Regions from separate parts of the Homo sapiens genome. Here region 1 is linked to region 2. Evidence: promoter capture Hi-C in human tissues and cell types (Jung and others, 2019). All regions are on one chromosome and are shown on one strand. Each heading gives the region's core, a stretch centred on a gene start or on the middle of the fragment in contact. The rest is flanking DNA. Distances are from core to core; before and after follow the strand shown. Region 1 overlaps LOC105370502 (a long non-coding RNA gene). Region 2 holds the start of CNIH1 (cornichon family member 1).

Region 1 (3,538 bases), core at 62-2,561, 1.2 Mb before region 2:
CTTTTGGAAATCTCTGTCCGCGGTGACTTTGACTCATAACTCAGCATTCTTTGGGTTTGGTTCTATGTGTACTTTTGAGCAGTCGCTTTATTCATCTTGTCCATAAGGACATCATGACTGCTGAAATGCAGATTTTTAGTACCTATAGCAGTTCTGAGATTTTTACCACATTACGAATCTTAGGAAAAAATGTTTGTCATGAGTGTTCTTGAATTCAGTGTAATTCCTTGTGATCACAATTTTCTAAGTGTTTAATATATTTAAAATAATTCTAGAGATTTTCCTAGAATCAATGGTGGATTTATTTGCCACCCATTTTGTTTTATATAATTTATATTCTTCCCTTTGTTGAAAATCAGTGGGGGAAAAGATATTCTCCAGATTTCTGGCACCTGTTCTCTTTTCTGTGGGATGCCATTGCTAATCTTAGAAAAGTTTCAGAAAAAGGATAAAACTGGAAACCAGATTTCAAGGTGCTGAGTTAATTAGAGGGGAATAAAAGCTGGATCTTAGGTTTAATAATGCTTTTCCTTAATATGTACAAAGCATTTTTGTGTTTTGAGTTCAGCCATAAGAATACAAACTTCAGTCCGTTAGGAAATTTATGTGTAGAGAACCCTTTGGCCAATTCCTGGCACTTCTCCTTTCCGTCAGATGGTTATATTTCACAATAGCACAATTTATTGAATTTGGCACATTGTCATCTTTTTTTTTTTTTTAACATGAATACAAATCATGCTGTTTCAAATATCTCTTTGACAATTACAATTGCCTGGAAATGTAAGATTATCAGAAAAGGTACATCATAAGAGTTGTACCTAATGAAGAATTTTAACTATTAGTCTTCTAAAGGTTATTATTTCAGTCTTTTATTTCTTTTATTAATCTAGTACACATTTATTAAACATTTCTTTTGTATTATGAGTGATACTAAGTCTGTATGTGTGAAAGTAATTTTGTTTTTTTTCCTTTTTTTTATTATTATTTTATTTTATTTTATTATTATTATACTTTAAGTTTTAGGGTACATGTGCACAATGTGCAGGTTAGTTACATATGTATACATGTGCCATGCTACTGTGCTGCACCCATTAACTTGTCATTTAGCATTAGGTATATCTCCTAATGCTATCCCTACCCCCTACCCCCACCCCACAACAGTCCCCAGAGTGTGATGTTCCCCTTCCTGTGTCCATGTGTTCTCATTCTTCAATTCCCACCTATGAGTGAGAATATGCAGTGTTTGGTTTTTTGTCCTTGTGATAGTTTACTGAGAATGATGATTCCCAATTTCATCCATGTCTCTACAAAGGACATGAACTCATCATTTTTTATGGCTGCATAGTATTCCGTGGTGTATATGTGCCACATTTTCTTAATCCAGTCTATCATTGTTGGACATTTGGGTTGGTTCCAAGTCTTTGCTATTGTGAATAGTGCCACAATAAACATACGTGTGCATGTGTCTTTATAGCAGCATGATTTATAGTCCTTTGGGTATATACCCAGCAATGGGATGACTGGGTCAAATGGTATTTCTAGTTCTAGATCCCTGAGGAATTGTCACACTGACTTCCACAATGGTTGAACTAGTTTACAGTCCCACCAACAGTGTAAAAGTGTTCCTATTTCTCCACATCCTCTCCTCAATCTTTTATTCTTAAAGGGTAAGAGGCTTGTGAGAGGTTTACTTAGTTCCTGCACTCAGCTTTGGTTTGACCAAATGCATAACTGAGCTTCTCTTTATCATTCTGAGACTCAGCTGCAGCAACACTAGAGTTGGCAGTGTTGGCCGAGTACCTCTTCCTAGTACTGTACGAGATATTTTAATTCACATTTTGGCAAGAGGAGATTCCAGCATCTGCTGATTGAAACCCAGGATTCAGGGACCTGAAATGGATTATGTAGCCCGTTTCTAGTACAATGTTAAAACAGATCACTCCAAGTCTAGAAAGTTTTGTATTATCTGGGCTGCTTTTTTAAACACCAAGATCAAAGTTAACCCTATAAACATTCCTTACATTATGGCACAGATGTCTTTGTGAAGAGTTGGTAGAAATTGAGTAGAAGACTGGATTATATTTTATAGGAACTCTGGTGACTTACTTATAAGTTAAAGGTATGCTATTAAGATCTTTATTTTGTTTGAAAGAACACTCTCTAATATATCTTCTGTGTAGCTGTGGATTTTTATTTGATAATTTTTCTTAAAATAGATTTTTTTAAAGTCACCTGACTCTGCTTCTTTAAGACAGACTATAAAAACAACGGAAACCGGGCACGGTGGTTCATGCCTGTAATCCCAGCATTTTGGGAGGCTGGGGTGGGTGGATCACCTCAGGTCAGGAGTTCGAGACCAGCCTGGCCAACATGGTGAAAACCCGTCTCTACTAAAAATACAAAAATTAGCTGGGTGTGGTGGCGGGTGCCTGTAATCCCAGCTACTTTCAGGAGGCTGAGGCAGGAGAATTGTTTGAACTTGGGAGGCGGAGGCTGCAGTGAGCCGAGTTCGCGCCATTGCACTCCAGTCTGGGCAACGAGCGAAATTCTGTCTCAAAACAAACAAACAACAAAAAACAATGGAGCACTCTGGAAGTCAGCTTTTTAGGACCACATGCTGTGACATCTGACACTTGGCATCCTTAATGTTGAGGGCACTTTCTTTGGGAGGTACATTGGCCTATTTCTAAGAAAAATATATATCATAATTATTGTATAAAACAGTTACTGATCTTTTTTTTTTAAAGATGGTAGTAAGTTGAGAAAATTCAAGTAAACATTAAGTAAACTTTAAATATTAAGTAAAGCTTTATTTTAAAAGCTGTTAGAAGTTTCTTTTCTGGCTGTTTAGATAATGCTGGGTAAAGACATTATTTTACAATAAGTAAGTGATTTGAAGAGAATAAAATGATATATTTGGTATAATCAACATTAATGCAATCATAAATAATAGAAAACTCTCATGTTTGGAACACATAGTTTAGATTTTAAGGTAATTTGAATATATCATGTGTGATTACTTAGAGATCAACTATTCTCAGCCCTGGCTGTGCATTAGAATTACTGAGGAACATTTTAAAAATACTGATGTCTGGGTCTCACACTCGGAGATTCTGATTTAATTTGGGAAGTGGATCAGACTCTATATTCTCAGAGATCCATGGGGAAATTCTAATGTATAGTCAAAGCTGGGAACCACCAGTATAAAACCTTGCAACTTAGAGTGTGGGCCATAGACAGTGTTAGCCTCACCTACAGCTTATTAAAAATACAAACTCTCAGGCCCCACCTTAGACTTTCTGAATCAAAGTCTGCATTTTAAGGTGAGGTAAGGTAGCTGACACCTGTAATCCCAGAACTTTGGGAGGCTGAGGTGGGCAGATTGCTTGAGGTCAGGAGTTCGAGAGCAGCCTGGCCAACATGGTGAAACCCCGACTCTACTAAAAAAAAATACAAAAATTAGCCAGGCGTGGTGGCGGGTGCCTGTAATCCCAGCTACTCAGTAGGCTAAGGCAGGAGAATTGCTTGAGCCTGGGAG
Region 2 (3,146 bases), core at 517-3,016:
CGCCATCGCGGCTCACTGCAACCTCTGCCTCCTGGGTTCAAGTGATTCTCCTCCGCCTCAGCCTCCCGAGTAGCTGGGATTACAGGCGCCCACCACCATGCCCGGCTAATTTTTTTGTATTTTTAGTAGAGACGGGGTTTCACCATGTTGGCCAGGCTGGTCTCGAACTCCTGACCTCGTGATCCTCCCGCCTCGGCCTCCCAAAGTGCTGGGATTACAGGAGTGAGCCACCGCGCCCGGCCATGGAACCACACATTTTCATCAGAGGCCTACTAAGGTTGAGCTAGTCTGTATCCCAAATTATCTTAGGTATTGTTCTTCCATCAAAGCAGGGCTGAAGATGCTCTTCAAATTACTGCTCCTACTGACAAGCATTCTGAGGTAGCAGTTATTTCCGACACAGTTAATAGCCTACATAAGTATTCCTGATTACAATAAGCAGTCAGGTCCTAAAATAATTGTAAACATAATCACACTGCTTAGCAAAAAGGAATGGATTTGTGATATGCTTCCACTTTCGAGACTTTTTTGCACAAGACGCTGCTGCTGTTTAATCATTCTGCCCCTCCGTATGTTTCATAGAAATCCTTGTTACTGGCATGATGAAACCTGACTTAAAATCTACGTAAGAGTGAACGCGGTCATTCAAATTAAAAGCAACATTCCAGAAGGCACTGGAATATGGGGAAAAGAGAAGCAAGTATGAGATAAATTTTTAATGAATGATTTCCAGAAGGCTCTCAAGGCTTTTAATTTTGTGCTAAAGCAACAGAAATTCTTATCTCTGTAGAACTATGTCACAGGGAACTTACGACTTTTTCCTTAGAGGGACCAGTAAGGCTGTGCTTCCACCCTGCAATAGTGATGATGATGTGTGTAACAGAAATAAATACTGCCCCAGAAAAGCTTAAGGTTTCTGAGCATCTCAAAATCAAATGAAAACTCCCTCTACTAAATCAAGCAATCCTGAATATAAGGGTGGCTTGGAAAGCTGCCTGTTGAAACTCCAGCGGTCAAAGTATGATTTGGGGGGGAAACGCGCACATGCAATCAACAAAGTAATCAATTGAACTTGCATCAAAGTTCACCAGGAAACAACAATCTGGAAAAAGAGAAAAAAAGTGATTTGATTTGAAGAGCACCGAACAAGTGCTGAAAAGTAGAGTTGGAAATTCACCCTAAGTAGGTTACATTTTGGCCACAGTTCTGTGGAAACCCTAAAAGAAAGTCAATCTGTATTAACAAAAATTCGGAAAACTTCATTCACACTACGGCCGTCCCACCGCGCTGTCGACATCCTCCCCGGGAATGCAGGGCCGCGGGCCGGCAGAGGTCGGTGCGAACGCAGCGCGGAACCGCGGGCGCCCGCCTGGACCGCGGCCGCCCCATCCAGTAGGGGAGGAGTAGCGGTGCGCGCGGCCTGTGCCGAGGCAACGCGGGCGCGTCCACCTGGCGACTGCGCGCCCCGGCTCCTCCAGTACCCGCGGCCCCCAGACCCCTCGCCGCGCGGCCCGTGCCAGCCGGGCCGCATCCCCGACGCGCAAAGCCCCGGCGGCCGTGGCGGCCCGGACCGCGGGCCCGGGGCGAAAAGAGGCTGTGTTGCCGCCTCGCCCTCCTTTCCCCAGCCCCAGCTACTCACGTGCCAAATGGCGAAGAAGATGAGCGCGGCAGTGAGCAGCAGCGCCAGCATGTAGCAGAAGGCCGCGAACGTGAACGCCATGGCTGGGGAGGAGGAGCGGGGAGCGGCGCCGTTGCCAGCGGAGAAAGGCGGCGCAGGGCCCTCTGGGTAAAACCATTCACTTCCCCCGGCCACAGCCGCGACCGCCACCGCTACCGCCGCGGCGCCAGCCCTCTCAGCGCGCCTGCGCACCAGCCCAGCCGCCCCGGCGCCCTCTGATGGCCGGAGTCTGCGTTGCACTGACATTGTCCGCACAGTTGTTGATTGATTTTTCCTTCCTTCTTGCGTTTATTCTTTCAACAAATATTTATTGAATGAATGCCTAGTTTGTTACAGGTACCGCGCTTCTCGCTTCAGATACAAAGATGAATAAGATAGTACCTGCACTGAAAGAACTTAGTATAGTGCCGGAAATGAACACCTAAATAAATAATTACGTTATTATAACCCCGTAAACGGATGTGTGTGGGATGCTCTGAAAGGTCAAAGAAGGACAGCCAGCCCGCCCTGGAGCATTTAGGCAGGATTCCTGCTGTAGGTGTTTCCTAAGTTGGCCTTAGATGATGATAAGTTCTCCAGGCAAAAAGAAGGTAGAACTGGCAGTCCAAGGAAACAGTTCAGAATGAGGAAACGCAACAGAGATGGAAAAAAGAAAAGAAAAATAAAGCTTCGTGTCTCAGGTGAAACCAGCAGCAATTCTGTATTAATGGAACCTAAGTGCAAGACAGTGGTGAGACTTAGAAATGAATTAGCAAGGGATCAGATCATAGAGGGCCTTATAATGCTTCATTACGGAGCTCAGACTTCTTATCCCATAAGCCCAAATTTTTTGCTCACCACACACAACTAGAAAGATTTTTTTCATTGCAACCCAGTGGAATATCATACAGACATCAAGTTATGAAGAGGTGGAAATCTAGTTATAGAGGCAAAGAAATATAGATATGACCAAAACAAAAATTTCACAAAACTGTACTAATGATCCATAAGTACTTTCCCTTCTCTCTTTTGCTACTTGTTTTTAATGCTGGTCTTAACACACAAAATTGATTCAAAATTGATTTAACTTTCCATTACAACCATTTTTAAAAGAAAAAAACTCTATTAACTGATTGCTGCTGATGGAAGAGAAAATCATTGAAGGCTTTTGAGCAAAAGAAGACCATGTTTAGATTTGCATTAAAGATCGTTCACCTAGCAAATTGCGTAGAATAGTTTAGAAGCAGGGTCTGTCCAGTGCTGTGCAATAGAACCTTCTGTGATGGTGAAAATTTTCGATACCTAAACATTGCCCAATACAGTAGCCACTAGCCACATGTGGCCATTGGGCACTTGTAAATTGTCTAGCATGACTGAGGAACTGAACTTTAAATTTCACATCACTTTAAGTAAAATGTGGCTAGTGTATTGGACAGTACAACCTGTACCACCAGGATTATGTGGCACCTGTGTGCAAATTATCAAGTTA

The links. Contacts are between HindIII fragments. The study calls those that stand out against the background at their distance.
Region 1: a fragment that was not itself captured here is called in contact with the fragment with the promoter of CNIH1 in region 2 in 1 of the 25 tissues and cell types used here (hippocampus).

What each region holds. Positions count from the first base shown.
Region 1 is chr14:53,208,921-53,212,458 of GRCh38, forward strand. The region is part of intron 5 of LOC105370502 (a long non-coding RNA gene); the gene reads left to right. Among named protein-coding and RNA genes, the nearest start is that of DDHD1-DT, 57 kb to the left of the region's middle. The HindIII fragment of the contact is 4,655 bases long and covers 1-3,538 here.
Region 2 is chr14:54,439,608-54,442,753 of GRCh38, forward strand. It overlaps CNIH1 (cornichon family member 1), which reads right to left and starts at 1,767. Exons shown (of 5, transcript NM_005776.3): 1 at 1,640-1,767. The coding sequence starts at 1,720. RefSeq lists silencers at 1,241-1,290, 1,301-1,660, 1,701-1,970 and enhancers at 1,376-2,174, 2,051-2,110. The HindIII fragment of the contact is 6,683 bases long and covers 1-3,146 here.